Linked DNA regions of Homo sapiens: all the other regions are linked to region 4. The links are contacts of gene promoters, found by promoter capture Hi-C in blood cells and fetal thymus (Javierre and others, 2016). All regions are on one chromosome and are shown on one strand. The core of a region is centred on a gene start or on the middle of the fragment in contact, and the rest is flanking DNA. Distances in the headings are between cores, read along the strand shown. Region 1 holds the start of PPP2R5A (protein phosphatase 2 regulatory subunit B'alpha). Region 2 holds the start of PACC1 (proton activated chloride channel 1). Region 3 holds the start of SERTAD4 (SERTA domain containing 4). Region 4 holds the start of RCOR3 (REST corepressor 3). Region 5 holds the start of NSL1 (NSL1 component of MIS12 kinetochore complex). Region 6 holds the start of C1orf74 (chromosome 1 open reading frame 74). Region 7 overlaps TRAF3IP3 (TRAF3 interacting protein 3).

What was found. Contacts are between HindIII fragments. The CHiCAGO score rates a contact against its expected background, and 5 or more counts as called.
Region 1: the fragment with the promoter of PPP2R5A here is called in contact with the fragment with the promoter of RCOR3 in region 4 in 2 of 17 cell types (naive CD8 T cells and fetal thymus); the score reaches 7.4 in naive CD8 T cells.
Region 2: the fragment with the promoter of PACC1 here is called in contact with the fragment with the promoter of RCOR3 in region 4 in 1 of 17 cell types (fetal thymus); the score reaches 6.4 in fetal thymus.
Region 3: a contact is called between the fragment with the promoter of SERTAD4 here and the fragment with the promoter of RCOR3 in region 4, in 2 of 17 cell types (endothelial precursors and M1 macrophages). The highest score is 6.1, in endothelial precursors.
Region 5: a contact is called between the fragment with the promoter of NSL1 here and the fragment with the promoter of RCOR3 in region 4, in 1 of 17 cell types (total B cells). The highest score is 5.1, in total B cells.
Region 6: a contact is called between the fragment with the promoter of C1orf74 here and the fragment with the promoter of RCOR3 in region 4, in 4 of 17 cell types (erythroblasts, total B cells, total CD4 T cells and 1 more). The highest score is 5.7, in erythroblasts.
Region 7: a fragment that was not itself captured here is called in contact with the fragment with the promoter of RCOR3 in region 4 in 1 of 17 cell types (fetal thymus); the score reaches 5.7 in fetal thymus.

What each region holds. Positions count from the first base shown.
Region 1 is chr1:212,284,138-212,286,968 of GRCh38, forward strand. It overlaps PPP2R5A (protein phosphatase 2 regulatory subunit B'alpha), which reads left to right and starts at 1,273. Exons shown (of 13, transcript NM_006243.4): 1 at 1,273-2,154. The coding sequence starts at 1,974. LINC02608 (long intergenic non-protein coding RNA 2608) reads right to left here and starts at 884. Exons shown (of 4, transcript NR_125984.1): 1 at 842-884. RefSeq lists an enhancer at 786-865 and a silencer at 1,036-2,005. The HindIII fragment of the contact is 5,039 bases long and covers 1-2,831 here.
Region 2 is chr1:212,413,431-212,416,153 of GRCh38, forward strand. It overlaps PACC1 (proton activated chloride channel 1), which reads right to left and starts at 1,456. Exons shown (of 8, transcript NM_018252.3): 1 at 1,292-1,456. The coding sequence starts at 1,327. RefSeq lists a silencer at 1,108-1,167. The HindIII fragment of the contact is 5,506 bases long and covers 1-1,741 here.
Region 3 is chr1:210,231,512-210,234,211 of GRCh38, forward strand. It overlaps SERTAD4 (SERTA domain containing 4), which reads left to right and starts at 1,285. Exons shown (of 4, transcript NM_019605.5): 1 at 1,285-1,500. It overlaps SERTAD4-AS1 (SERTAD4 antisense RNA 1), which reads right to left and starts at 2,374. Exons shown (of 2, transcript NR_024337.2): 1 at 2,124-2,374; 2 at 1-260. RefSeq lists an enhancer at 1,163-1,696. The HindIII fragment of the contact is 4,360 bases long and covers 1-2,700 here.
Region 4 is chr1:211,258,005-211,260,704 of GRCh38, forward strand. It overlaps RCOR3 (REST corepressor 3), which reads left to right and starts at 1,362. Exons shown (of 12, transcript NM_001136223.3): 1 at 1,362-1,722; 2 at 2,104-2,160. The coding sequence starts at 1,557. LOC105372902 (a long non-coding RNA gene) reads right to left here and starts at 1,188. Exons shown (of 2, transcript XR_922552.3): 1 at 732-1,188; 2 at 1-571. RefSeq lists enhancers at 181-300, 575-1,076, 1,579-2,078 and silencers at 781-1,570, 1,641-1,940. The HindIII fragment of the contact is 7,419 bases long and covers 1-2,700 here.
Region 5 is chr1:212,790,284-212,793,071 of GRCh38, forward strand. It overlaps NSL1 (NSL1 component of MIS12 kinetochore complex), which reads right to left and starts at 1,494. Exons shown (of 6, transcript NM_015471.4): 1 at 1,247-1,494. The coding sequence starts at 1,480. TATDN3 (TatD DNase domain containing 3) reads left to right here and starts at 1,611. Exons shown (of 10, transcript NM_001042552.3): 1 at 1,611-1,704. The coding sequence starts at 1,639. RefSeq lists enhancers at 167-945, 1,420-1,699. The HindIII fragment of the contact is 10,286 bases long and covers 870-2,788 here.
Region 6 is chr1:209,783,096-209,786,063 of GRCh38, forward strand. It overlaps C1orf74 (chromosome 1 open reading frame 74), which reads right to left and starts at 1,464. Exons shown (of 2, transcript NM_152485.4): 1 at 1,283-1,464; 2 at 1-614. The coding sequence starts at 539. It overlaps IRF6 (interferon regulatory factor 6), which reads right to left. Exons shown (of 9, transcript NM_006147.4): 9 at 2,522-2,968. RefSeq lists enhancers at 1,169-1,786, 1,343-1,602, 1,787-2,402. The HindIII fragment of the contact is 4,418 bases long and covers 1-2,968 here.
Region 7 is chr1:209,766,659-209,769,443 of GRCh38, forward strand. All of the region lies in intron 8 of TRAF3IP3 (TRAF3 interacting protein 3), which reads left to right. Among named protein-coding and RNA genes, the nearest start is that of TRAF3IP3, 12 kb to the left of the region's middle. RefSeq lists an enhancer at 2,738-2,785. The HindIII fragment of the contact is 594 bases long and covers 1,156-1,749 here.

The sequences.
Region 1 (2,831 bases), core at 23-2,522, 1.0 Mb after region 4:
CTAGAATTCAACTTCCTGCCAAATTTGGAATCTTCTGTACATATGCATCAGGTGGCTTCGTTTAAATATACGACAATTACTTTTATTATGTTGAAAGGAAAAGGTCTGGAGCTCGAGGGAGGGGATTACAGATTTGGGTCCATTGGCGCAAAGGGAGGCTGACTGTTCAGATTAATAATTATTAACGGCCACCGTATGGAAAGCACTGCACGAAAAACTAAGATGACCAGTCCTCGTCCTTAAGAAATTCAAAATCTAGACGGAATCTCCAAGAAAGAGATTCCGGTAAGAGTACATGGCAAGCCTCCATATCCACACACCACTGACCAATGAATTTGTACTCTTCTCGTTGGAGTAGTTGAGGGCCTTTGGCTCAAGGAGGGGTGAAAATTAGCAGGATACTAAATTGGGAATGAGAAATCTCTTTTTAGAGGGCGTGGACTTGCAGAACTCTTTGAAGCAGCAGATGCTAGACTGCCCAAACCCCACGCGAGAGTAGCTCTCTGGAGTTGCGGAGTCCGAACCTCCCAAGAGCTACAAATTTATTCCGCAACTACCAATTTTGCGGTTTGGGGCCAGTAAGGCGCCAAGACCCGCCCAGGTGTCCAGACCTCGCAACGATTGGACGAGCTCACCTTCTCGCCTTCCCCGGGCCCCTCGCCCGTCAATCACACTGCTTGCTCGCCACCTGACCTCTGCTGCGCCCCCTTTCAGTGGTGTAACACCTGGCGCTCTTTCGCGCCCCAGCCCTCCGGCGCCCCACCAATCGCTTCAGTTCTTCATTGGCCAGCAGAGAGGTGAGGGAAGGGAAGGGGCGCTCTATTTTGCTCTCTGAACGCACCCTCTCAAGTTTCCCAGTCTTCTCGTAGACGGTCAGGAGAGCAATGACAGCCTGGAGCAGTCGCGCGTGAGCGCAAAAATGCCCGCTGGTGGAGGAGCGCTTCCCCTCCCTCCCAAGCGATTTGCCGCATTTGTTCTGACGCAGGGGCACCCCGCTCGCCGTCTTCACTTACGATTGGCTGTGGCCGAAGCCCGTCACACAGCCCGCCCCACTCCTCTGCCTCAAGAGGCCGCACCTCACGCCGTCGCTGCCGCTTAGCCGTGTGATTGGCTAAGAGGGCTGGCATGCTTTCCCGCCCCCTCCCCCGCCGCCGCACCAAGAGGCGGGCGGGACCCCGCGGAAGTTGTCAGTCAAACTCCTCCTTCCCACCCCTTGCGAGGCCCCTCCCCGGGCCGCGCGCCCTGGCGCGCGCACACGCGCACACACTCCCCAGTCGCCTGTACCAACCACCTTCTCAAGTTGTAGCGGTCGCTCGCCTGGGGTTCTCCGTGGGCGGCCGACGGGCGCGTGGGGGAGGGGGTTCGGGCCGCCCAGCGCGGCAAGGAGCGAGTGTGTGCACGCAGAGGGCCGGGGCTACGGGGCAGCGCCCCGGGCGATGAGGGGCCGGCGTTGACCGGGAAGAGCGGGCACCGCGGCAGTGGCTCCGAGGGGACCCGCGATGGCAGCGCCCTGAGAGGAGGCTCCAGGCAGGGCGGGCTGCGCTGGCAGCGGCCGCTGAGGTGCTGGCCGGCCGGCTGGCTGGCGACGGGGGCAGAAGCGACGAGAGGCGCGCTCGGCACCCGCACCCCCGTGCCCCCGCCTCAGTTGTCTAAACTTCGGGCTCTCTTCCACCCGCTCTGCGCGCCCAGAGTCAACAACTTCTTCACCCCCCTCCGCCCCCGCCCTTCCCTCCGTCAGCCCCGGGAGCTCGCCGCGCGCCGGGGACCAGGAACCTCCAGCGCTGAGATGTGGCCGTGAGGCGTTGGCGGGCGGCGAGGAGAAGCTCGGCGGCGTCCCGGGGCCGGAGGGCCGTGGGGCCGGGGCGCAGGGGCGCGAGCACCCCGCGCCTCTCCCCCGCCTCCTCCTGCCGTCTCCGCCGCTGCCCGTGCCTTGCAAGCAGCAGCCGGAGCTGCCAAGCGTCAGGGCCGCGGAGATGTCGTCGTCGTCGCCGCCGGCGGGGGCTGCCAGCGCCGCCATCTCGGCCTCGGAGAAAGTGGACGGCTTCACCCGGAAATCGGTCCGCAAGGCGCAGAGGCAGAAGCGCTCCCAGGGCTCGTCGCAGTTTCGCAGCCAGGGCAGCCAGGCAGAGCTGCACCCGCTGCCCCAGCTCAAAGGTAACCTCCGAGGGCGCAGCCCCAGCAGCGAGCGCAGGGGCTGGCAACGCTTGCCTCTGCGCCAGCAGAGCCATTTCCTGCTGGGTTTCTCCTGCTCAGTTGGGACTGGTAGTGTGTGAGCCGAGTTCCCCACAATGCCTTGGCGTCACCTCACGCCCTCCTCCTTATTCAAACAGGTTTTCTGTGAAGTCTTGGCTGTTTCCTTCTAATTCCCACCTGAACTCTTTCCATCCTAGGGGAGGCCAACACCCTTCCCCACCTGCGCGCTTGCTTAACCTGCACTTCCTATCTTGCGTCCCGTGAAGTAGAGTCCTTCACTCCTCTTCCAGGTTTGCCCTTTCCCGGTCTTGCTTTAACAACCGCACGAACCTTCCCCGACCTTCACTTTCCCGAGTGTCAGCTCCTCTGTTCGGCCACTTTTAGCTAGTCCTTTACTTTTACAGTTATAAAGCCGTCTGCACCCACCTTCTTCTCAACTTCACTTCCCATTGATTGCCCCTAAGAGTCATCAGACCAGGAATCCGAATGCAAACAACGGTTAAGAGTTAGCTGGCCTTTGGATGTATTTATAAAGAAAAAGCCTAAAATTTGACCAGTGTAGTATCTTATTCACAGGATCGTTAGCTTTAAATGGTATCCTTTAGCTCAAGGAATAGATTTAAAATATTCTGTTGTCT
Region 2 (2,723 bases), core at 206-2,705, 1.2 Mb after region 4:
AAGTTCATTATGAGAAGGACAGACAGAAATGCAGACGGGTCTGGAAAGCGGACCCCTATGGAACACATGGAACTTGAGGTAGCCCTTGACTTCTGGGGGCATTTTACCCAATGGAGCTTGGCGGAGCGTTGATGAAGGAATGGAGTGAGCACACGCACAGAGGCAGGAGCACATTTTAAAACTGAGTTTCCACTGTGCCAGACCCTAGGTGGGTTAGGAGGTGGCAAAGGTAATGGGAGACATGGCTGCTGTGCTGTTCAGAGCTTTGGGAGCCTGCTGAGAAGTCTGGACTGTTCTGGGCAGACGAAGGGCAGCGTCAGGTCTGAGAAAAAAGGAATGCTCCGAGGTGAAGGCAGGGCCTCAAGGCAAATCTGGAGAGTATAAGAGACTAAAGGGAGCGATGGTAACACAGTATCGCACTCAGAGGTTACAGCAAACACAGGGACACAAACTGGAGGAGGACCGACCTGGAACTGCCTGACTTTGGCCAATGAGGCGGCACGATGGAGGGGCACAGAAGAGGACGGTTGCCAAAGATGACCAAGGTTTGGGGGCCGAGAAGTGGAGGCGGAGGAGGAGAGCAGTTTCACTAATACAGCTGGAGAAGTGAGGAGGCAGGGCTTGCTTGAAGGAAGCGCTGGACGCACAGCCTGCAGCGCAGGACAGAGAAGAGACAAAGAACTGGAAAGTGATAAAGTCGTGGGAGGAGGTGAGACTGGAGGGAGAGACGAAGAGGAGCGAGAACTAGCAGAGTCCATGAAGGCACTTTTTCAAAGTTAGGTGGTCACCAAAAAACAGGTAATCAATCCTGTCACCAGCCGCGGGGACAGCGAGGCCTTGGGCTTGGAGGGGGAGGATGCCGACGATGCCGACCGCGCATCAGATCTCGCCGGGAGGAGGGCGCGGGCGCTCCACTTGTTGCAAAGAACGCCGGGTTCCTCTGGGCCATTGGGCTGCCGCTCCGGCGGGGAGCGCGGAAGGCTGGGCCTCAGGTAGCTTCAATCATTCACCTGCTGGTTACGGGTCGCGGCGCCGGGGACCCTACTCCGGACCTCGGCCATGCAACCCGCAGCATACGGAGAACGCTGGGCGCCCGCTCCGCTGCCCCGCTTCCTTCCTGCCCCTGGGCCGCTCCTCTGCACCCCGGGAGCCCTCCCCTGACGCACCCGTCGGTCCCTCGGAAGAGCCCTCTGCCGCGCAGCCCCGACACCCCCCGCCCCGCATCCGCCCAGGCCCCCGGGACCCTGCTCCTCCGCCTCAAACTTCCCTTCCGTCTCTCACAACCTCGTACCTCCTGGTAGGATGTGGAGCGCTCCTGCCGGATCATGGCACTGACCAGAGCTTCGGCACACCTGAGACCGCCCCAGCCCGCGGCGCACGGACGCAGCACTGCGGCCGCTGCACCTGGACCTACCGGCTCCGCGAGGCGAAACCGGTCCGGAGGGGCGTCCCAGAGACCAGGCGTGGCGATACTCGGCGCATGCGCCTGGCCGCTGCCGCCCAGGAGTCGCGAAAGTGTTGATGGGAAATGTAGTTCTGGGCGGGGGCGCCCCTCACACCAGCTCTCACCCCTGTGGCGGAGGCCTGCATGTGACCCTGGGCCAGCTAAGCTGGTCCTTAGACGCGTGCCTCTGCGTCTCTCACTTCCTCTCTTTGTTGGAGGGGGAGGGACGGAGAAGAGGAGTGGAAAGTGGAACAAAGTCAGATGAGTAGGAGCCCCTAATCTATAATTGCAAGAGGAAGCTTGGCCTGGCGGTTTAAAACGGTAATAAATGTCTGGAGAGCACTTTGTATGTTAGTTACAAAGCGCTCTCACTCACATTATGCCGTTGATTCTGCAAGGAACCCTGTAAGAAGGACATTTTTCTCCCTAATTTACAAATGAGGAAACTGAGGTACTTTGTTTCAGAAAGGATGCGGGTGGAGCGGTAATCAAATGAAGATTATTTCATCCAGGGGTAGACTGCGGAGCCCATGTTCTCTCCATTATTCCAGGGGCAGGAGTACCCCTAGGTTCTTGTCCTGGCTCTGACCCTCCCCTTTAGGTCTTGCAATGCTCTGAGCCCTCCTCTCCTCGCCTTAGAATGCAACTGCTAAACCCTGCCCTGCCTGACAAGGCCTATGAAAGCAGAAAGGAAGGATCGTGCAGAGAAAGCCTAAAGCCGCTGTTCAGCCACAGAAGAAGCCTCAAGCGCTAGATGTGGCGTCAAATCTGGTGTTGGCCCTGTGGCAGGGTGGACCTGAAGACCACATCTTCCTCTCCTCCCACTGCCTGAAACAGCTGTTGTGTGAGGGCCCTCGGCTCCTCAGTGGTGAAGCAGATAGAGGCTGCTTGTTGTGCCTTGGTGAATGCTGCTCTGTGTCCCTTGCAGCTGCAGCTTGGTAACCCCTCCACTCAGGCCACTGGGAGCCTCTTCTCTCCTCAGTGATAAGCAGAATAGTGCCAGCCACATCAAAGAACCCTGGACCTCCTGGAGCATTAGCAATGGGAGGTCCCCATCACCTCTCCTGACCACTCACCCCTATCCTAGGCCCTCTGCTCTTAAATCTGTTATATGGGACAATATATATAGTGCCTAACACATTGTAGGCACTCGACAAATGTTTGTTAAATTTATGAATGGAACACTGATTCCAGCCATTTCATTTAACAGTTGCTTACCAAAACAAATTAACAATAGCAGACCACTAATTAAATTCCTTACTGTGTTAATACAATGGTA
Region 3 (2,700 bases), core at 35-2,534, 1.0 Mb before region 4:
CTTTTAAAAAAAGGAAATTCACTTAACTGCATGTCAGTCACCCAAGTTTTAAGTGTACAAATGAAATGGAAAACATTTATTACACAAATTTAATTACAATTCTAAGAAATAAACATGCAAATTAGATAGAGTTCAATTTGCAGATGCTAATCCTCATCCTTGATCTTGTTCCTTCCTCCCTTGATTTTCAGTCTGTGCGTCTTCTTGATTCCTAGGGAGCCAGGCAGCCAGAGGTCTGGTTTTTCACAGTCGGAGGATCACTGTTTTAAAGAAGTGTTATATTTAGCACATCTGGTATAGTGGCAGTAAACAAACATTATAGTCTTTGTAACACTTTTGTGCAGGTGCCTTCTCCCGATTTTATTAGGTCTATGCCTTCCAAGCCTCTGCCTTCATTACACCTGAAATGACCCATCTCGACTATGGAGGGGTCCCTAGACAGAAGTTATGAATTAATGATTTTAAAAAATAAACTCTGAGGCCACTATAGGAGAAAATTACTATTTGCAAAATATTCTGATTCCAAGGCTTAAATTACATTCTCTTGAGCAAGGACAATCTCTTGTATTACTTTTTATTTCCTGGAGGTTTTCCCTGGAGGCTCCCCACCCAGAAAGGGTTGCCAATTCAAGTTGCAGCAGGACCAAGGTTGCTTTTTTTTTTTTTTTTAATACGTACGCAGCTCAGGAGGGAAACGGGCGGGGGCGGGCGGCGAGGGAGAATAACTGTTTGGTCCTGCAAAGACATCTGTTTCTCATCTCCGTTTGCTGTGGCAAAGGAGAAGAAAGTCTTTTGCAAAGGGTGGGAAAGGCACAGATTTTTTTTTTAATCACACGCACACACAACAACAACAAAACTAAACCAAATTTAAAAAGACAAGATATCTCGGAAGGTTCCAGAGTGAATACATTATTCGGCTGGAGCCAAGCCCCCAGGGCTAGGGCGGGAGCCCGAGAGCGCGTGGGGTCTGGGCTGCGGGCTGGAGCTGGGCCCGCGTGTCCCCGGGCACCGGGAGGGGAGGGGAGGAAAAGGAGGAGGGAGGGCGGGAAGCAGGGAAGGAGGCAGGGGGCGGGCTGGGGTGGGGGTGCGGGAAAGGCGCCCCGTGTGCAGCCTGAGGAGCGGCGGCGGCGGCCTGAGCAGAGGGAGGGAGGGAGAGCGGGCGCGCTTGTCATGTTCCCTCTCTCACCCTGGGGGCATCCTGCAGAACCTCTCCTCGGAAATCCACGGGGAAATGGCAAACAGGATTGACGGGTTTCACACGCTCCTCGCTAGACAGAGCCGCTCATTACCATAACCGTCTGCAGCGACGGCGGCGCAGCGCCCCAGTCGCGGCGGCGGGACCTGCCGGGACCCTTGCCCGCCGCGCACCCGCAGTCACCGCCGAGCGGGCGGCCGGGCCGGGACCCGCGAGTGTGCACCGGCGGCCGGGCTGGCGCCGAGCCCAGAGCGGACCAGCAGCAGCTCAAGCGCTGCGGCCGCCGCCTCCCCGCTGACCCCGCGGTAAGAGCCGGGCTGGGCGCGGGCCGCGGGGGCGGGAGGGCCGGGCAGGGTGGAGGGCGAGGGCCCCCCGGGGCTCCTGCCCTCGCAGACGGGCACCCACGCGGCCTCCCGCGCGCCCTCTTGGCACCAGGGCTGTGCCGAGGTCACCGAGTGGACTCGCAGCGGCCGGAGCGGAGTCGGGGCGGCGTGGGGGCCAAGGCACAGCTGGGCGCGGAGGCGGCGCGGGCTTTTCCCTGGGCTAGCGTGCGCCGCGGCGCCTTCACCAGGGCGGGAACCGCCGCCTCCTCTAGGGCTGCTCGGGCTGCCACCCGCGCGCACCGAGACAACTCCAGGGGCGGGTGGGGTCAGAAGCTCTGGTGAGACCTCATGGTCCTCCGTGGCCGCTTAGTCCCTCATCGTAGGGGAAGGGGTTAAGTAGGAGGGGTGCCCCCAGGTCCGGATGCCGCGGCGCTTGGCAGGTGGGGAGAGAGGGATTGTGGATGTCAGGAGCGCGCGTTTGCAAGAAAAAGGAATTGATGCAGTAGCTGACACCTTCTGTCCCCCGCCACCTCCGCCCCCGCACCCTCCTCCCAGGCAGCAGAGCTGCGCTGCGGGCGGCGGCGGCTCCTCTGTCCTCAGCTCACCTCCTCGGCGGGCTGAGGCTGCTGCCCGCCTGGTCCACGCCTCCGCCTCTCGCTTCCCTTCCTCCCCTCCCGCCTCTTCGGCCCTAGCAACTTTCCGAGTGCCCAGCTGTGGTCGCAGAAGCAGGGAATAGGCGTCCTCGCCGCCAGGTCCCACGGGCGCAGGGCGCTCCCGCAACCGCGGGCTTCCAGCGGGTTTGGCCGGCAAGGGAGGGAGGGAAGGCCGGGCCGACATCTGCTGCGGGCTGGAGCGCGGGGGCCCGGGCCAGCCCCGCCAGAGCCCTGCCAGCCGCTGTGAGTCATTTCCTTGGAATCCTACCTTTGGTGTTTATTTCCCTTAGAAGGAAACTTGGTTTTTTTTTTAAAAAAAAAAAAGGATAAGACATAAAGAATAATAATAGCTCTTATTCTTCAGAAGAGGCACACGGCTGCGGCACCGTAGAAAGACAACTTGCCTTTGTTCCCGGACACTTGGGGTGTTGTTTACTTTCTCCTGCGGCCAGCGGCCGACCGGGCGCTGCTGGCTACCCGGGGAGGGGCTGAGGGCTGCGGCACCGACACCCCGGGGGTGTGTCTGTGC
Region 4 (2,700 bases), core at 112-2,611:
GCTCAATTCCTGAGTTAGATATATTATTTCTCTCAGTAAGGTTTGCTCTGGCCAGAGACGTTCATTTCTGGTTTGATCCACTCTGGATTGACCCATAATAGAATTATTACAAGACAGTATTTTCAAGTGTTTGGAGAGTATCTGCTGAACCCCAATACCGCTCAGCATACATCTGCATACTAGAGGCTCACAGTTAAATCCTCACTTATTTCTACTTATTCGTCAGTGGGGGGGAAGAAATCAGAAAAAGAGGAAAAGAAAATCATAAACAGCCCCCAATGCCAGGCAGCCTGGCACGCAGCAGATGCCCTCAAATCTGGTGAAGGAATAAACGCAGTTTCCTACTCCTTTCGCCGAATGCAATTCAGAAAAGCATTACAGAGCACAACTCCTTCCAGGCTGGAAACGCTGCCAGAAAGCAGCTCTCGCTTCACCTCTGCCGGGGGACTCCGCCCTCTCCCCCAGCGCTCCAAGCGGAGACCGCAGGTCAGCAAGAACTGAAAACGCGTCTACTGGGCCAGGTCTCATGTTTATCTTATTTCCCCCTCACTCCACAGCACTCACTCCCCAGCTATTAAAACAGAGAAGAAAAAAAAGGAAAGAAAGATGGTAAGAATAAGACAGTAGGGTTAGGATCGGGGAGAGGGGCTTCAGCAAAAAACAGTTGCATCGCTCAGCCCCGGAAACTCATCCCGTCATCCCCAGACTCTCTCTCGGGAACTGGGCCCTACTTCAGAGATCCAGAAACAAAAATTGTAGCGTCGAGATGGTTAGGGCCGAGTCTACTTCTTTCGCCGGTTGGGCCTCAGAGCCCCAAGGCCGCCCTGCTATACTGCGCGACTGCACCGCGGGCCAGAGCGCGCCCCTAGCTCGAGGCTGCCAGCGGACACCGGGAAACTGAGCGGCCTGCGGGTCCAGACATCTGAGGAACGCCGCGCTCAGGCCCGTGCCTGCAGCCCGGTCCGCAGAGGGGGGGGGCCGCTCCCCCCGGTCGCCCAGTCGGGTCGCGCCGGTCCTTTCTCAGGGTGACCGCGTTCCTTCCGCCCAGAGAGGGCAAAGAGTCCCGCTCCCTCGTGTGCATCTCCCGCCCGCGCTCCGGAGCGCCCCCTAGGAAGAAAGCCCGAGCGGCGGCCACGCCTCGGTGGCGATTTTATTAGCGCTTGGTTGGGGTGGCCCGGCTGCCTGCGAGCGGGGTTTCCCCGCCCCTCCCCCCTTCCCCTCCCCCCAGGCGGCCGGAACCTCCCTGCGGAGCGGAGTGATACCGGCGGCGGCGTAGAGCGCGGTGCGGCCGAGGGGCGCCCGGGACTGCGCGGGGCGGGCGGCGGCGGAGGGAGGAGGGGAGAGAGGCGGGGCCGGGGCGGGTTGTTGTGAGGCGACTGCGCTACTGCCGGAGCGGGGCGGTTATGGCGGCTCCATATTAACAGCCTCCTCCTCCTCCGCCGCCGCCGCCGTCTCCTCCTCCTCCTCCTTTCCCTCCCGCCCGCGCTCTAAGCCATCTCCGCCTTCACCCTGACGCCTGCCTCTTCCCCTCACCTTTCCCCCTCCCCTGTTCTACCATGCCCGGCATGATGGAGAAAGGGCCCGAGTTACTGGGGAAGAACCGATCGGCCAACGGCAGCGCCAAGAGCCCGGCAGGCGGCGGCGGCAGCGGCGCCTCGTCCACCAACGGCGGGCTGCACTACTCAGAGCCCGAGAGCGGCTGCAGCAGCGACGACGAGCACGGTGGTAGCCTCGAACTCCTCCCCGCCAGCCCGCCTGCCCCCCTCCCTCTTCCCCTCCCCCAGCCCCCTCCCCTCGCCGCTCTCCCGCCCTCCCTCCCCTCAGAGCCTGGGCGCTGCGGTAGCCTCGAACTCCCGGTGCAGTGCAGCAGCACCCCCGCGACCCCCCGTCCCTCCGCCCTCGACCAATCCTCCGCCTTTGCCCCCCCCCGCTCCCCGCCCCCAATCCGCTGCCATCTCCCGGAGTGCCCCGAGTTGATATCTTCCCATCCACCCGCCGCTTCTTTCCTCCATCTAGCGATTTTTATTTTTTAAGTGTCTCTTCCTTTTTCTTTCTTTTCTTCTTTTTTATTTTTTATATATATTTTTTGGCATTGCTTTGCAGATGTTGGGATGAGAGTCGGAGCCGAATACCAAGCTCGGATCCCTGAATTTGATCCAGGTAGATATATTTGCTTAAGCAAAATCTCATATCCCCTTTCCTGGGCTTGGTTTGGGGTGGACGGGCTAGGAGTCCGGGCATGGGGCCGGGAGGGGATGCGGGGTTGGGCTGGGCAGGCATCCGTGGCGGGGAGGCTGTCAGGCTTGGCCGGGCTGTGACACTGGGCGTGTGGGCAGATGTGTGCACTGCAAGGTTAACATGGTTCCCTTCGGAGGCCACTTGCCCGCTGGGGGCATCGCCTTCCTAGCCCTTGAGCCTGGGGCAGGGTCGGGGTGAGCAGAGGGAGACGGCCCTTGGCGGAGTCCAGGGTCCGAGGCCGCGGGCTGGAGGAGCAGGCGTGCGGACTGTATGGACGAACCGTGCAAATGTCAATTGCCACCTCGCTCGCCCCGGCGCCGAGGGCCGCGCTCTGTCGGGCGGGTGGCAGAGGCCAGGGCGGCTGTCACCGGCCGGGGAAGCCAAGGGCGAGCCCTGCCGACCTGTGCGCAGCCGGGATTGTCTCTTTTCTTTCTTTTTGGCTAGGTGGTGTAGCTTTGGTCG
Region 5 (2,788 bases), core at 244-2,743, 1.5 Mb after region 4:
CCCAAAGTGCTGGGATTACAGGCGTGAGCCACCGCGCCCGACCCCTTTTGCCTGTTTTAGAGTGAAAACATTTTCTTTACAAGACTAAAATAGGTTAAAAAAAATTGTGTTGGTTGAAAACTTTACTAAGATCATACATTTGCCTCTATACCACATTTCCCAAGCCTTTCTTAAATATTTTTGCAAAGCCCTGAAGGTGGTAGTTTTTTGGGAACACAAGAAATAAAGGGATTGTGTGCTTCCTTATAACAGGCACCAATCTACTTATATTAGCGGAAAAAATTTAAAAGCTCATAATACCGCACATTTGTGAGTTATGAATGACCACAGTGCAAACAGTAAAAATAAAGGTTAATAGGCCGGGCGAGGTGGCTCACGCCTGTAATACCAGCACTTTGGGAGCCCAAGGCGGGCGGATCACGAGGTCAGGAGATCGAGACCATGCTGGCTAACACGGTGAAACCCTGTCTCTACTAAAAACACAAAAAAATTAGCCGGGCGTGGTGGCAGGCGCCTGGAGTCCCAGCTACTCAGGAGGCTGAGGCAGGAGAATGGCGTGAACCCAGGAGGCGGAGCTTGCAGTGAGCCGAGATCGCGCCACTGCACTCCAGCCTGGGCGACAGAGCGAGACTCTGTCTCAAAAAAAAAAAATAAAATAAAATAAATAAATAAATAAAACATGCAAAAGGAAAGATCAAATGCTGCTTGGGTGAATGGCTGACTTCCAGAATTACCCTTTCCAGGAGAATTCCTCATTGTCTGCGGCTGCATTGTCCAACAGGTGAGCCACTAGCCACTTTGTAGTTACTGAGCGCTTAAATGTAACTAGTTCGAAGATGTGCCGTAAATGCAGCACACCAGATTTGAAAAGCTTAGTACGAACAAAAGAATGTAAAATATCTCATTCATTTGATATTATTACATGTTAAAATACCTTGGATTTATTGGGTTAAACAAAATGTCTTATTTCCATTAACTTCACCTATTTCTTACTTTTAGTTTAAAACTACATAAAGATTAGCTTGCCTTGTATTTTCACTGGACAGCGCTGGTCTAAGTAATTAATAAGACCCAGCTGACATTAGCATCTATTTCTTTCTCCTCTAGCGTTTCTCGAACTGGTTCTACAGTAGCCTGGGGCACCGTTAATTCTGCCAAGGCCTGGCGTGGGATCTTTCTGAATCCTAAGATCCTGGGTGTTGGGTAAGAGGATGATGAGTAAAGAACTGGCTAACTGGTCCCGTACCCACTGCGCATCTCGCAGAGCGGGCTCCCGAATCTCCTCCGGCAGAGCGTCCCCGAGCTTTTGCACGAAGCGGCCGCACAGTTGTAGCATTTCGGTCACAGCCCGCTTCGAGGTGCAGCGCACCCGAAAGTCTTCTCGGGGAGTGGCGGAGACCAAGGCCTGGCTCTCTGTGCCAGCCGCGAGCTCCTTGTCCCATGGAGGGTCAAGGACCACCAACTCAGGAGACCCCGCCATTTTTCGTCGGAACTGTGGGCGGGGCACTCTGGGAGCGGAAAAGCGGGTTCACACTGGTGTAACCAGCATGCATCCGGCTGGAAACTCAGGACGCTGCAGCTGAAACGTTCCGGCTCCGGCTCTGCTGGCCGGTCTAAAGCGGCAGCCGCCGGGGCGCAATGCGAGCGGCTGGCGTAGGCTTGGTGGACTGTCACTGCCACCTCTCCGCCCCGGACTTTGACCGCGTATGTGAGGGCGATACGGGACCAGAGGGAGCAGGGAGGCCCCCGTCCTTTCCCCTCGTGTTATCTTTGCTCTCCTCCCTTGGGACGAAACCCCATATCCCCCGCCCAGACCCTTGTTTATGGCCATATGACCTTGCCCCTCATTTCCCTATTCCCTATTTAACCTCAGACATACCGATTTTTTTTTCCTGATTCAGTAGCGGTAAGCTATCTCCACAAGGCTTTTGTTTGCTCTTCTGAGTTCCTGGAATCGTTCCCTCACTCCCCTTGGCTGGCCTGTTTTTCCCCTCGGGGCTCTCACCTCCTGGCTGAGATGCCACTCTTTGTGGGAAGCGGTCCTCGAAACGCGTTCAAATCGGGGAGAGGTCGGGCGCGGGCTCACGCCCGTAATCCCAGCACTTTGGGAGGCCGAGGCGGGCGCTGCGCATCTCCTGTGTCCAGGAGATCGTGACCAGCCTGGGCAACATGGTGAAACCTCGTCCCTACAAAAAAAAAAAAAAAGCCGGTGATTGTGGCGTTTGCCTGTGGTCCCAGCTACTCGGGAGGCTGAGGTGGGAGAATCGCTGGAGCCCAGGAGGTGGAGGTTGCAGTGAGCTGACATCAAGCCACTGCACTCCAGCCTGGGTAACAGTGAGACCCTGTCTCAAAAAAAAAAAAAAAAAAAAATTCACAAATGGGGGAGAGAGGCAAACAAACAAACAAAAATACATGGCCGAGTGTGGTTGCTCACACTTGTAATCCTAGCACTATGAGAGGCCGAAGTGGGTGGATCGCTTGAGCCCAGGAGTTTGAGACCAGCCTGGGCAATGTGGTGAGACCCCGTCTCAATTAAAATAATAATACACACGTAAAATCAGTTACAAACTGTTTTACCCATTACGTGGGAAACTAGAGACTAATAATAGAGGATTAAGGGGGGTTTTATTTCAGGGGGAAATCCTCCCAGGAGCTGACACTTAAGGCTGAAAAGACAAGGAGCCACCCAAGCAAGGGGGTGAGTGTATGCTGGTTAGGGAAACAGATAGGTTGCAGGCCCCCAGACAAGCTAGAATTTGGCACATTTCAGTTGCCAAAAAGCTAAGTG
Region 6 (2,968 bases), core at 214-2,713, 1.5 Mb before region 4:
GGATAGCCCAGGAGGATCCCAAATACAGTACACAGATTCCAGTCTGAGGAATGGAGCCTGCTGTAGGAGACTGCTAGAGATAAGTCCCTCTGCAGCCCCTGCAAATGTGTGATGATCTCAGCCACGAGGGCCTTCAAGTCCTGAAGCTGGTCCAGGGAGCAGACAGAAGGGTGACGCTGGCAGCTGGAAACATCCACAAAGGCTATGGTACCAAGCAGCACCTGCTCCAAGTGCTGACATACATGCTCAGGACTGACAATCAGGCTGTTTTCTCCAATCTCAAGGATGTGAAGTCCAAAAGTCAGGAAGCCAAGCCCCTTCAGCTCCTCCAGATAGCTCTGGAGCTCTGATGCCCCTGCACAGTTGCAATCATAGAGCACAGCTGGCTTCAGTCCCCGGGCCACAGCCAGCACCTCTCCAGCTAAGTGAAGGCAGATGGCTTGGGGTGGACTCCGTCTCTTTCCCATGCCAAGGGTCTGCTGAGCAGCTGCCACCAGCAGCTGAGGGCTCGGTGATGACATGAGATCTAGAAGCAACATCAAGAATGGCCTCCTTAGCTAGCCCGAGTTCCCTTCCCTGGGTGGCATCTTTCAGCCAGACACTTGAGGAGGGGCCTAGAAACAAAGCAGGAGCAGGGAATTATTAACAGCCTTCCTGTTAAATCGCGGTATCTTCCAAAGGTTATTCTGTCCCTCCCTGCTTTGAAATGGCGACCCAGCCCAGACAAGATAGTTTCACCGATGCTGCTTGATTTTTCTGGTTGACTTGGTCTCCCTCAATCATAAATTCGTGTGTTTTTCTAGCCTTATAGCTAGATTTATATTCCCTCTGGCTTTTATTCTAAATTTCACCTGTTGCAAATTACGTTCTCTGGTTCAAACCGTAGGGAATTTGGGGCAGAGGCGGAGGCGGGGCAGTGTTTGGCAAAATTCACAGCATTTCGCCCAAAAGCCCTTCTGGGACAGAGCTCCAAGTTCCAAATGTATCCTTTCCACTGACAACTCCCCTACTCTTCCCGCCAGAGAATAGTTATAAGAATAGTAATTTGATTAATATACACCAGAATGTGGACTAACAACCATCTCACCCTGACACATAAAAATGAATGAATGAAATCCACTAGAACTGCAGAAGGGTAGTATTTTAACTTCTGCTGGCCCCGCCTTCCCTTTCTGTCCGACATCAAGGACCCTCGGAAGATGAGATTTCTCCGATCCACACACCCCACACCAGAGCATGTTATAGTGATTTGCTAAATGAGGCATAAGTCTGTCTCACATACGTTCTTTTTCCACGTCCGCTACAGGTTCGGGGGCTCAGAAACTTTTTGCGGCTTCCTGCCTGCTGCCAGAAAGGCAGCTAGTCCCCCACGCCCAGCCGCAAGTAACACTGGAAAACCCGCCTGCGCTGGGAAGACCCTCGCAGCCCGCTCTGCTCCAGTCCCGCAGGCACCTTCTTGCGCATGCGCACCCACTCGAGTGCCGCCCTCTTTCCCCCCATTCCGTGACGTCATCCAGCCGCTCGCGCGCCTCGCGTTAGAATCACTAGCTAGGCAGCCTTACTGCGCGCCGGAAGTTTGGGCCACCGTGCGGCCCGCCCTTTCCGGCCAGACTGAACGCGGCCCCATCTGTCGGCTTAGGAACTGGGAAGGGCGGAAGTAAACGAGAAAAGGCGGAACCTGGTGAAACTGGTTTCCCGCTGCTGCCCTCATTTTGCTTCGCCGAACGTCCTCCCTGTGTTATGACGTCTGGTGTCCCACTTGACTGGGAATCCAGAAACAGGGCACACAGCAGTTAATAAACACCTTTGATTTGTGTCTGTGGAAATACGTTTTGTCCAGACGAAACATACCTCAAGACAACATATTTTGCAGAATAGCCTCACCTGTGGGTGGTGCTGAAACGTTTTAATTTTTTTTAACTTGACTTCCCTAAATCCTACATTTGAGAGGCCTACAACAGCTCTCTAGGGAGGGTGTGAAGGTGTGAGTATTCACTTTGAACAAATATGTGCCAGTCATGCTGCTAGGCCCTGGAGGTACTGCAGTGAGCAAAACAGACAAAACCCCCACTTTCATGGGGCTTAAGTTCATGTCTACTGAATCCAGTTTGCTGATTTCAAATAAGAAATGAGAAGTGATGACACAGAGGCTTTCCAGTCAGGTCATTACAAAGAAAAAGTGTTATTTCACGTAAGAGTTAACACCTTTTTAACTACCAGCGATTTGACCCATGCCACGAAGGGAAAGGATTTCTTGAGAAAACCCCAATATCTAAGGAAATGGCCCCAATTTATTTATACTTGGAGCAGGACAGAGATTAAGGGAACAGTGGACACCTACACTGGAGTTGTCACTCCTGGATCTATCTTGGTGGTGCCTTCAGTCCATGAAAAGTGAATTGTACAGTAAAGATGGGGTCAGCATGGGAGGAGGACCAGCTTATAGGAGTTACCAGCCTAAGGCTGTCTGGTTCTTAGCTCAGAGGGAATCAGAAGCTGAGAGTAGAAAGTAGTCTTCTAATTTTAGAACGTTTTCCTTCCCCGCATTTATTTAATTTTCCCATGGTGGTTAACAGTAAATCCCTAAAAGACTGATTTAGTTCATTCATTTATTCCAGCAACAAATATTTGAGAACACACTGTGTCCCAGACACTGTTCTAAGGACTGGCAGCGAAGTCCAAGACAAACAGTCCCTACCTTCAGCAAGTTTGCAGTCAAGCAGGATGCGGATGCTGAGCATTACAAGGGAAATGATTATTCTGAGAGAGGAAGTATGGGGTGCTATGGGAACATACAACCAGGGACCTAATTTTATGGGAAAGGGACCAGCCCAGATCCAACACTTGCTCTCCCAGTTTACCTCCAGTAGGTTCTTTTTAACTTGAACTAATCTTGTTTGGTGGGGTACACAGTGAGGAAAAAGAAGAGCTAGTGACAAAATCTAACTCCCTTCTCAGTCTTAAGCAA
Region 7 (2,785 bases), core at 203-2,702, 1.5 Mb before region 4:
TTCAAGACCAGCCTGGCCAACATGGCGAAAACCCGTCTCTACTAAAGATACAAAAATTAGCTGAGCGTAATCGTGCATGCCTGAAGTCCGAGCTACTCAGGAGGCTGAGACACAAGAATTGCTTGAACCCAGGAGGTGGAGGTTGCAGTGAGCTGAGATTGTGCCACTGCACTCCAGCCTGGGTGACGGAGCAAGATTCTGTCTCAAAAAATAAAAATAAAGGAAAGAAACCATTTTAGCTGAATCTTGAAGGATGAGTAGGAGCTAACCAGTAGAGAAGCAAGAGTGATGATGAGGGAAAAAAGCAGAAAGTAGAAGAGTGTTTAAGGTAAAGGAATTGGAATGATTACAGGCCTATGTATGGCAAAGAATTGGGTATAGCAGAGTATGGCTGAAATGAAGGTATGCCAGAGTAGTACCAAAGAAAGGATCTCAGACAGGTCTTTAGAATTATGGGTCTTAAACTTTTTCTGTTGAACAAGGTATCTCAAACTTGAATAATGCATGGACCCATTTTTAAAGGAAACCCATATATGTATATATATAAAATCAGAGATCCTTTAGAATGCATGCTACCCAGCTTGAGAAACACTGCTATAGGTAATAAGCTGAGTAAGAATGGAACTATGCTTTATTGAGGTATAAAGTCCTACACTTAGCAATGTCTGGCTCATCCTTAGAAGGTATGCAATTACTATCTGAGGAAATGACTTGTGAATGATCAGATCTGTGTCTTAAAAAGTTCTGTAATTTCCAACTGGATGCAGTGTCTCACACCTGTAATCCCAACACTTTGGGGGGCCAAGGCAGAAGGATCACTTGAGTGATCAAGACCAGCCTGGGCAACATAGTGAGACCTCATCTCTATTAAAAATAAAAAAATTAGCCATGCATGGTGGTACACACCTATAGTCACAGCTACTTGGGAGGCTGAGGCAGGAGGATCGCTTGAGCCCAGGAGGTCCAGGCTGCACCACTGTACTCCTGCATGGGGTAACAGAGCAAGACCCTGTCTTGAAAAAAAAAAAAGAGGGGGGAGGGTTCAAGGATTATCTAACTTGTAGCAATAAGAACCCTGGCTCCAAGCAGGGGTTGGGGGAGTTGAGACTCTTGTAATATCCCAGGTAAGACACAACCAGAGCTTGAATCAAAGCAAGCTTTGTGGGAATGAGGGGGGATATATTAAGAGACATTTCTGGGTTTGTCTCCAAGGAGGAGTTTCACCCCATGCTCCAGCCCAAGAGCAGAAGTTCCCTTGGTTGTGGTTTCCTCCCTCCCTTCTTCTCACCCCTCCCAATCCTCACCCTTCTCTTCTTTGTCCCTCCTCCCCACCAACCCCCTAGCTTCCAGTTTTAAAGAAAAACAGTCTCAGACTTTTTCAGTTAACAGCTATTGTTTCCCCTAAAATAAGGTAATTCAACTCTCTATCTCTTCCATGAAAGCCTCAACTCCAATAAAAGTATAGCCCCAAACTGTGGTATCTGGGAAAAATAATTGGAAGAAAGTGGCCAGAACTGGTTCAGACCTTTATTTTTGCCATTTGACCTTCATAAATTTGAATTTCCAACTTCACATGCTGAGAACTTACCACAAACTCCCTATTAGAATCCCAAGGATCAGCTCCCTCCGCTGGCTTCACCTCCGGATGTCTCTGGGCCTTTTGGATACCATAGGCTCTGGGGCACTATTGAGACTCCTGAGGAGGGTCCAACCTTCAGGGCAGAAACAGCTCTACTAGCAGAGAAAGCAAGCTTTCAATATTGTGCAATACAAAAACGAGAGCAGGGCAGCCTTGGGTTTGAAGATCTGCGTCCTGGAATTAAGATCTTGAGATGACAGCGCAGCGGGGATTGGCTGAAGCCCTAAGCAACCTCTACTAGAGCAGAGAGATGAGCTGTGGGCTGGTGCTTCTGTGGTGAGGTGGTGGTGTTTCTGGAGAGCAGATCAGAGGCAGGGGAAAACCACGCAGAAGCAGGAGCTGAAGACCTCAGACCGGCACCAGGTGTGTATGGCCTCCGCCTTGCTCCTCTCTTCACTGGGGTTTATATGCCCTCTGAGCCCTCGGCTCCCGGGGTCTAACTGCCTAGAATGTCAGCAGTAGGCCTGTAAAAAGTGCTTCTTCCCACATACTGTAACACTGGGCTTCAGTGTGGGGGACCCTGGGGCTCAGACCAGGAAACTACATGCCCGATTTGCAACAACTTGGCTGCGACTTTTATGACGTTTTGGGGAGTCCAGAAAAGCAGAGCTGTGGAAAGAGGTTTCATTCAAGCTCCAGACTTGGGTGGCCCTTCATCCCCACTGAAGTGGCTATGGTAAATTGTCTTCCGTTGCAACACGAATGGAAAAGTAATTTGGGGTTGGGCCAATACAAAAACAGTTGAAAGAGGCAAAATATTGGATTAAAGCCATACTATGGAATGGGGAGAGAGGAGGTACCCCAAAAGGGTAGGAGACTGGGAAAATTTTAAGAATATTGCCTTAGGCCTGCTATATTCCCAAAATACAGCAAGATAAACCTTAAATTTGGTAGGTTTGATTGCATTCTGCATAGAAAGAGTTTGGGCAAAGGCAAATGTGTGGAACCGAAGATGTGAACCAGAGGAGGTAGGTGTAGAGCCAGTTGATTTCAGGACCTGTGGATTGACAATGAACAGGCCACAGTGGAATGCAGCCGTTTTACCAGTTACTTCAAAGCTCAAACAGTAGAAGTCTTTGTCCACGTCTTCCATCGGTCCCAAAGCCCTCTGCTTATTGTAGATGCCAAATCCCTGACTCTCTGCTC